Regions from separate parts of the Homo sapiens genome. Here region 2 is linked to region 1. Evidence: promoter capture Hi-C in human tissues and cell types (Jung and others, 2019). All regions are on one chromosome and are shown on one strand. The core of a region is centred on a gene start or on the middle of the fragment in contact, and the rest is flanking DNA. Distances in the headings are between cores, read along the strand shown. Region 1 holds the start of SGK3 (serum/glucocorticoid regulated kinase family member 3). Region 2 holds the start of TRY-GTA5-1 (tRNA-Tyr (anticodon GTA) 5-1).

What was found. Contacts are between HindIII fragments. The study calls those that stand out against the background at their distance.
Region 2: a fragment that was not itself captured here is called in contact with the fragment with the promoter of SGK3 in region 1 in 1 of the 25 tissues and cell types used here (mesenchymal stem cells).

What each region holds. Positions count from the first base shown.
Region 1 is chr8:66,710,607-66,714,347 of GRCh38, reverse strand. SGK3 (serum/glucocorticoid regulated kinase family member 3) reads right to left here and starts at 1,567. Exons shown (of 17, transcript NM_001033578.3): 1 at 1,515-1,567. All of the region lies in intron 3 of C8orf44-SGK3 (C8orf44-SGK3 readthrough), which reads right to left. RefSeq lists a silencer at 1,389-1,858. The HindIII fragment of the contact is 13,282 bases long and covers 1-3,741 here.
Region 2 is chr8:66,111,808-66,115,534 of GRCh38, reverse strand. It overlaps TRY-GTA5-1 (tRNA-Tyr (anticodon GTA) 5-1), which reads right to left and starts at 2,168; the gene lies at 2,076-2,168. TRY-GTA5-2 (tRNA-Tyr (anticodon GTA) 5-2) reads right to left here and starts at 1,547; the gene lies at 1,459-1,547. TRA-AGC8-2 (tRNA-Ala (anticodon AGC) 8-2) reads right to left here and starts at 1,346; the gene lies at 1,274-1,346. It also overlaps a transcript of TRIM55 not described here. RefSeq lists enhancers at 1,193-1,845, 1,583-2,122, 1,846-2,497, 2,663-2,742, 2,813-2,862 and a silencer at 2,233-2,282. The HindIII fragment of the contact is 8,750 bases long and covers 1-3,727 here.

The sequences.
Region 1 (3,741 bases), core at 318-2,817:
ATTCTCTGCATATCTGCAAATCACAAAAGGTACACCTATGAGGCTGACCTACCAATTCAATGTTTCCAAGAGCAAATAGCAGTAAAATTACAAAACGTTATTTGTTATGTTGATGTGTGCAAACAAAAATGTTCTATTTTATAGTACATTTCAAGTTCAATCTGACCCTCATATCTAAACTATGTCATATAAATAATGTCATATAAACAGTGTCGAACAGATCAGGAACAAAGCTCTTTTCAAAAACAAAAGTAGGCTCCATGCAGTGGCAGTTAAAGAAGGGGAAGTTCTGGTGTCTCCAGAGTTAGCCGATGGGCACAACGGCAGTTGAAAGAGACCATGTTACACAAGTCATTCAGGTTCTGGCCAACATCTGCTTTGAACAGGTCGCATTCCCAGGAGCTCCAGGCTCCCTTACCCCAGGGAAATGCTGGGGTGGTGGCTTGTCTTACAGAAGTGGTAGCCAAGGGGACCAGAAGGCACACCCGGTGCTAAAACATGCCTAAAACTTCCTCTAATGTTTACAGCTCTTCCAATGACATTTGGGGAACTAAAGTATGGATAGCCTCTTCATTGCTAGAACCGCTATAATATGATAAGTTAAGAATTTGATTTAATATTTATAAAGAACTTAGAAAGAGCCCAGCGCATAGTAAGGGCTATGTAAGTGTTTGGTAAATAAAAAAAGGCACCTCCCAGATTGGCTGGGTGAAGTCTCAATCTGGTGAGAAGGGAGAGAATCAAAATACACAACAGTCTATTTTTCACTTTGACAAAAGATTTAGAAATTACAGTGCTCTGTATTTATTTTGCACCCAAGTGCACACTAAGTAGTCTCTGGTGCAGGACTGAAATTCTACTCATGGTTCAGAAGTCACTGTGCACAACTCAATGAAAGCGTTTTAAGTTTCAAGAGATGATTCCTTTCTCTTTTCTCTTTCCAAGTAACGATGACTAAAAATGACAGAATCTAAAAATCTCAAAGCACTTCTTGTGGGTACATTCCAAAGCTAAAACTGTGAGAATTAATAGGGCCAGATTCACTTGAAGAGACGTAAGGGTTCAAATTACAGAGAACTTAAAAGACGCAACGTATTAAGGTCTTTTACTACAGATCCGCTGACAACAGGTTAAACGATTCCATCCACCCCACTCTGGCGGCTGCCCCCTCCCCGACCCTCGCAGGTGACCTGCACCCACTTTCGACCTCAGATAGGGTCTCCCTGCTCGGCGTTCCCAGTTCCTCCAGGCTCGGCGGCTGCGTGGGGGTTAACAAGGTCCAGCCACCGACGCCCCTTGGGCGTTTAGGAATCTCGAGGCAGGATCTGAATTCACCTCGTGGAAACAAAGACCACAAACTCTCCGGGAGCCGGGGGCTGGGCGGAGGTACGGCTTTTTCCGAGGACAGGCAGCGGCCGAGGCCCGGGCAGCCCTCGCCCCGCCCCGTCTCCTCCCGCCCCGGGCCGCCGTCGGAGTCCCGGGCGCGCGGACCCTCCCGCCGGCCCCGCACCTACCTGGCCCCGCGGTGCTGCTCCCGGCGCGGCGGGCGCGGAGCCGAACGCACTGCGCTTCCTCCTTCCCGGCAGGGCCGCCGGGCGCCGGCGTTTCCTCCTTGACGCGTCACGGCCGCTGGCGGCTCCTCCCGCGGAGCGCGCGGGAGGCCGAGGACAGCCGGGGAAGGCGCCGGATCCCAGCAGAGCGGCGCGAGCGGCGGGCCGGGGGCAGCCCGTGCGGGGAGGGGCTGCAGGCTGCGTCCCGCTCAGGCCTCCGAGGAAACCCGCGCTCCTCTCTCTTCCCCGAGGACCCCCGCGAAAGGCCGGGCCACGGTGCACCGTCTGCCCCCGTCACGCGCTGTGCAAAGTTCAAGAGGACACAGTGGGTCCTGTCTGGAGTCACAGACTCTGGTGTTTCCCTCTGCTCCGCCCGCAGTGGCCGCTACCCTGGGGCCCAAGACCGGCGCGGGCCAGAGCGCCGGGGCCCAACAGAGATGACCTGGTGTGTGCAGGGATCAGGACCCCCCGGGTGGGCCCGTGGTGTTGGGGGGGTTGGCTTGGTGTAAACTGGAAACTCAGAGGAGTGAATTAAATATCCAAATAATTGAGAACAACTGTGATTCATTTAGCATTATTTGGACAGTTTTCCACTTTTGTCATTAGCAGAGTTACGGCCCTTGTGTTTATAAACAGTCGAGAACTTTCACAAATTGGCAGATCCTGTGTGCAGAGAAATTTCCTTTCCACACATCTTTTTAGATCTACTGACTCTTTTTTTTATTCCCATTAATCTCCAAGTCAGCTGAGTGCACACTTTACAGCTCCTTATTACTCATTCTTGAATTACAGAAGCTGCGTTTTAGATCTGTTTATCTCTTTTAACAGATAGAGAAGCTGAGTGGAGAACTAAGAATTACATGGTTCAATGGATGTGGAGTCAAGTGGTTAAGATTTTGAAGTAGAGTGGGTTGTTTTCTTCGTCCCACAACACTACTGTAATTTAGGTCTTATCAGATATCACTTGAAGATAGACTCAGACAAGTACTTAAAGATTCCCATGTGCATATCATGCCTTAGATTTTGAGACAATGATTTGTACTTTAGATCATATGATTCCAGAGAATTTGCCACAAATCTATGAACAAATAAACTGCCAAAGGTTATTAGAGGAACTGGGATCTATGTGTGACTTCCCTAAATTCAGAAGACATTTCCTCATGTTTTAAAATGATATTCAAAGATTTAGCCCCACAAGTATGGGTTAGGACATTCATTTTTAATGTCAATAACCACAATGTGGCCTCTCTTTAAAAAGTGGATTGTGAATCCAAATACTTTTTGTACTTCAGTAATCCTACAGAACTTTCTAAACAGTAGTTTTCAGAAATGAATATAAGAATGCAGTAGATACAAAACAATACATTGCCGGTGGTCCTTTATATGTTTTACTGTGGTCCACAAAGCAATCCACATACATTAGAGGAGTTCTTCCCTTGTAACAAAATCAACAAGTGATGAGTGTATCTCTTAATTAAAGCCATATTCACAGTGCTGAAGATTTCTCAGACAAAAGGAAGTTCTGTGTCAATAAACTCCAAGTGGAATAACATCATTCTCACTTTAGAGACAAATACCTGGCTATCACCACATCTTGACTTTTTAAAAAAATAAACATCTGGGAACCATTACATTTCTAGATAAATTTGTCCTATTGTGAAGAACACACACACACACACACACACACACACACACACACACACACACAGAGATCACCTCCCACAAACATTTTATGTATTTTCTTTTTTTTTTTGAGACGAGACGGTCTCACTGTGTTGCCCAGGCTGGGTTCATTTGATCAACAGACAACATGTTAGGCATTTTGCCTTTACAATCTGAGAGCTGCAATTTAATAGCTAGATTTTGCAAAAAGCTAGAGGAGGTAAATATATTCACAAACTACTAAGGACTTTTTCACTGTAATTAAATTAGTTTTTTTTTTTTTTTTTTTTTTTGAGATGGAGTCTCACTTTTGTTGCCCAGGCTGGAGTGCAATGGCACAATCTCAGGTCATTCCAACCTCCTCCAACTTCCGGTTTCAAGCGATTCTCCTGCGTCAGCCTCCCGAGTAGCTGTGATTACAGGTGCCTGCCACCACGCCCAGCTAATGTTTTGTATCTTTAGTAGAGACAGATTTTCGCCATGTTGGCCAGGATGGTCTTGAACGCCTGACCTCAGGTGAGCCACCCGC
Region 2 (3,727 bases), core at 997-3,496, 600 kb after region 1:
TCCTATTCCTTTGACTTACTACTTACTTCTTGCTCTTTCGGTCACTTAAAGTTTCACTGCCAGTTCCTCCCCTCAGCCAGCTAGAACACCCATAATCCCAAACTAGAAACTGGGACATGTCATCTGATAAAATAATTCTTTTTCTTACTTTGTGAATTTGTTTTTATGAACATCCTGATGTTATATTTCAAGTAATTTACAATACATTCAACTAAAAGACTATTGAAAATAATAAAACGAGGTAAAAATGGAGACCACCCTAGAAAATGAAAGATAGCAATAAACCATACCATGTTGTATACACTGGTAACAAAAGCATACAGGTTGCCTAGGACCCTAAAGAAACATCATTTATTTGCTGTACTCCTCACAAAGGTTGATACTGTATTTCTGCCTTTGTGTGGAAGATTTGTGTTATGTCTTGTAAGAACTGCGCGGTGGCTTCAACAGCTTTTTTTCTAGAAAATTAGGATAGGGAGATTTTATTACCAGAAAAGTCTTTGTGTTCTGTGCAATCTCTGAATCTTTCAGTGAGTGTGTGGATGTGTGTTTAGGTTTTACTCGTTTTGTTGTTGTCTTGTGTTTGCTTCACAAAATTACGCTCAAGGACTGTCCTAGATAGAACTTTTATCCAATTAATTCTCTCTCAGCGCTGGTCTCTAGTTAATTCTCCACAGTTAACTTCCACAGGAGGACAATGACATTACAACCTCCTCCAACGGCAGCCCCTGTGTCCAGGGACTTTATCCACTCACCTCTCCAGGGCTACCTTTTGCCTTGTCCTATCCACCTCGGATCTGCCCAGAGCCAGGCAGTCCGCCCTGCGGACTTGAGATGGGGCCGAACAGTTCCTGCTTCCTCGGTTGAGCAAACGTTCAAAGTAATCAGCGTCCGTTTCCAAGTTCTCTGTTTCTTGTTTTGTTTTCCCTGTGGGTCTCCCCGAACTATGGGCAGCTTAGCCTCAGATGAGTCCCTGGAAATGCAGACATCTTATCACAAATCATAAAGGATTCTGAGTGATAATACATGTGACGGCAATCTGTCGCCATTTTTGAAGCAAAAATAACCAGTTTCGTGAATTTCCCCCCAATTAAATGGGTCTAAAAATTTAAAGCTAGAAGGATAAACTGCTAGCGCCCACCACTCATTGTCTGGGAAGTTTTAGAGTGGTAAGCTGGAGCTCGCCCTACTCTTCACCTGACTTCGTCTGACTTTTCAGCTCTAGTTTGGGCTGAGAATCGAAAGAAAAACCGTACGGGACAGGAAGGAAAACTGGAGGATGCGGGCATCGATCCCGCTACCTCTCGCATGCTAAGCGAGCGCTCTACCATTTGAGCTAATCCCCCACGGCTGGGCACGGCTTATTATCTGTTCCTTTAGAGAAGGGTCAGAACATTGAGCGCTGAAGACAGACTTTTTTGGTTCAAAGCAACAAAATAATGGGGGGGGGGGTGTCTCTCCTTCGAGCCGGAATCGAACCAGCGACCTAAGGATGGCCACGGGCGCGCGCCTACAGTCCTCCGCTCTACCAGCTGAGCTATCGAAGGGAGCGGGCACAGCTTCCCGGGTGCCGCCTTGTCTCCATAACATTGTGTCATTTTTAGGCTTCGTGTTTTTAGTATTGTGTTCTCTCTTTCTGATTCCCAGGTTCCGGGAGCGCCAGATACCTCTTCCCGCGGACCCCCCACCTCCTCACGGCAGCCGTTGCGAGCCCTCGGGTCGCAGAAGCTGCCCGGGGCTCTGAGGAGAAGGTCCCCGCCTGGCCCCCTGGAGCCGGCGCTGCCTCCTGTGTGACTCGGGGCCCGGGCAATGCCAAAGACGGGTTAAGAAGACGCAGAAGTCGTGACCCGGCAGTCGCTCGGCCAAGCGCAGACCCACAGCTGCGCTGGGAACCTGCCCGGACACGTTCCCGCAGGGCGAATGGCTAAAAAGAATTACCGTGCAGGCTGGGAGGCCCAAAATGGGGAGAAAGCGCTAGACTTTCAAACTGCTCGTTGGAATGCAATGTGTCACTGAAGGCACCCAAGGAAAGTGCCATAAGTCATCGGGAGCTGGAGAAAAAAACCGCACTTGTCTCCTTCGAGCCGGAATCGAACCAGCGACCTAAGGATGTCTCCTGCTGAGGAAGTAGCTACAGTCCTCCGCTCTACCAGCTGAGCTATCGAAGGGACGTGTACGTGTGTCGGCGTCCCCTGAGGTTCAGCACAGAAAAACCGGAGCGCTAGTCCAGGCAACCGAAGATTGCACTGAGCATGCGTAATCCGAGGAGCGCAGAGCCCCAGAGCCGGCCTGTGTGCTCTACGCGTGCGCAGAAAGACAGAACGCTCCGGCTCGCTAGCCTGACTGACCCGGGAAAGGCCCTCAACCCAGGTGTCTGGGGTCCGCGATGCCAAGACCCTGCGATTCCACCGCCCCCCCTTGTCGTACTTTTCCTTTACCAGCCTGCGTTGTCCTTTAAAGTGGTTGCCGAGTGTGTTCTCAACACACAGTAATCCAACGGCGACTGAAGGAGTAGCGTGGTAGGCCAGTGGCGCAAGGGATAACGTGTCTGACCACGCATCAGAAGATTGTAGGTCCAGCTCCTGCCTGGCTCGGCATTATTGTCACTTGAGGTTAACAAACCAGAAATCATTACCTCCTCTGGCGTCCCCAAACCGCGAATGCCAGCAGTTTGGATTTCTGCAGTGTCCGTTGCACTTTGAGCCCGGGAGGCCTTACCAGCGCCACCGGTCCAACTCCCGCGGGGTGAAGGGAAGGCCCCGAGGGTCTCGGAACGCCCCCGGCAGGCAAGCCGGGTTAGGAAGACGCCACTGAAGCCCGGGGTTCTGTAGACAGAGCTGGTTCCACCGCATCTACTAAGACATCAGAGTCACTAAGTTCCTAGAGAAAGTCCCCTCACCAACCCCCGGCTAAGCAAAGAGAGGGAAGAAGATCACATAGAATGTCTTTTTGATCTGGTTCCTATTTTATGTTTAATTTTAAAAAGTTATTCAATCCCAGATAGGCTTATAATCCTGCTTCGTCGGCCTATTTTTGTAAGGTCATAGCGTTTATAAATTGTTAAGGTTTGCTGCCATATTCCCACTCAGTTGTTAGCGTAGCGTAAAAACCATCCAACGACCTGGGTTTTGCCCTTAGAGATCTTTTAACCAAGAAGGCATCATGTTGGTTTGGGCAAACTGAGTTTCTATTTTAATGTTATTATAGTAATATTTGTGGAAGGGAGATTGGAATTATTTCTTAAATCTCCCCTGTAAGATAGCAGTTCCCAAAAGTAAAAGCTTTAATAAAATGTAAAATTAGGGAAGATAAAATACGAAGTTAGAGAAAAGAAAAGGGCTGGATTTTTAAGTGGGAAAGCGGCTTCCTTAAGACTGCACAAACATGAGATTATTTTTGTTTCCTGGTGAACATTTTGCCATTTTTGCATGTAACAAGCCGACGTATCTTTAAAGTTATACAGCATTTCTGAGAGTTTGAGAAAATGACCTCTGAGAGGTGGGGGAGGTGAGTTGTACCCCTCTGGCTCAAGTTTGTGGACAGAACCATGAAAATCAGGCTAAGAGAAAAGTGCCTCCTTTTAGTCCTACCTTCTCCTTATTTTACAAAGGTGGCGAGCAGGGTGTTTATTAAATTATTATTTTCATTATTTTTTAGAAACAGAGTCTTGCTTTGTTACCCAGGTTGGGGTGCAGTGATGCCATCATAGCTCACTGCAGCCTCAAAC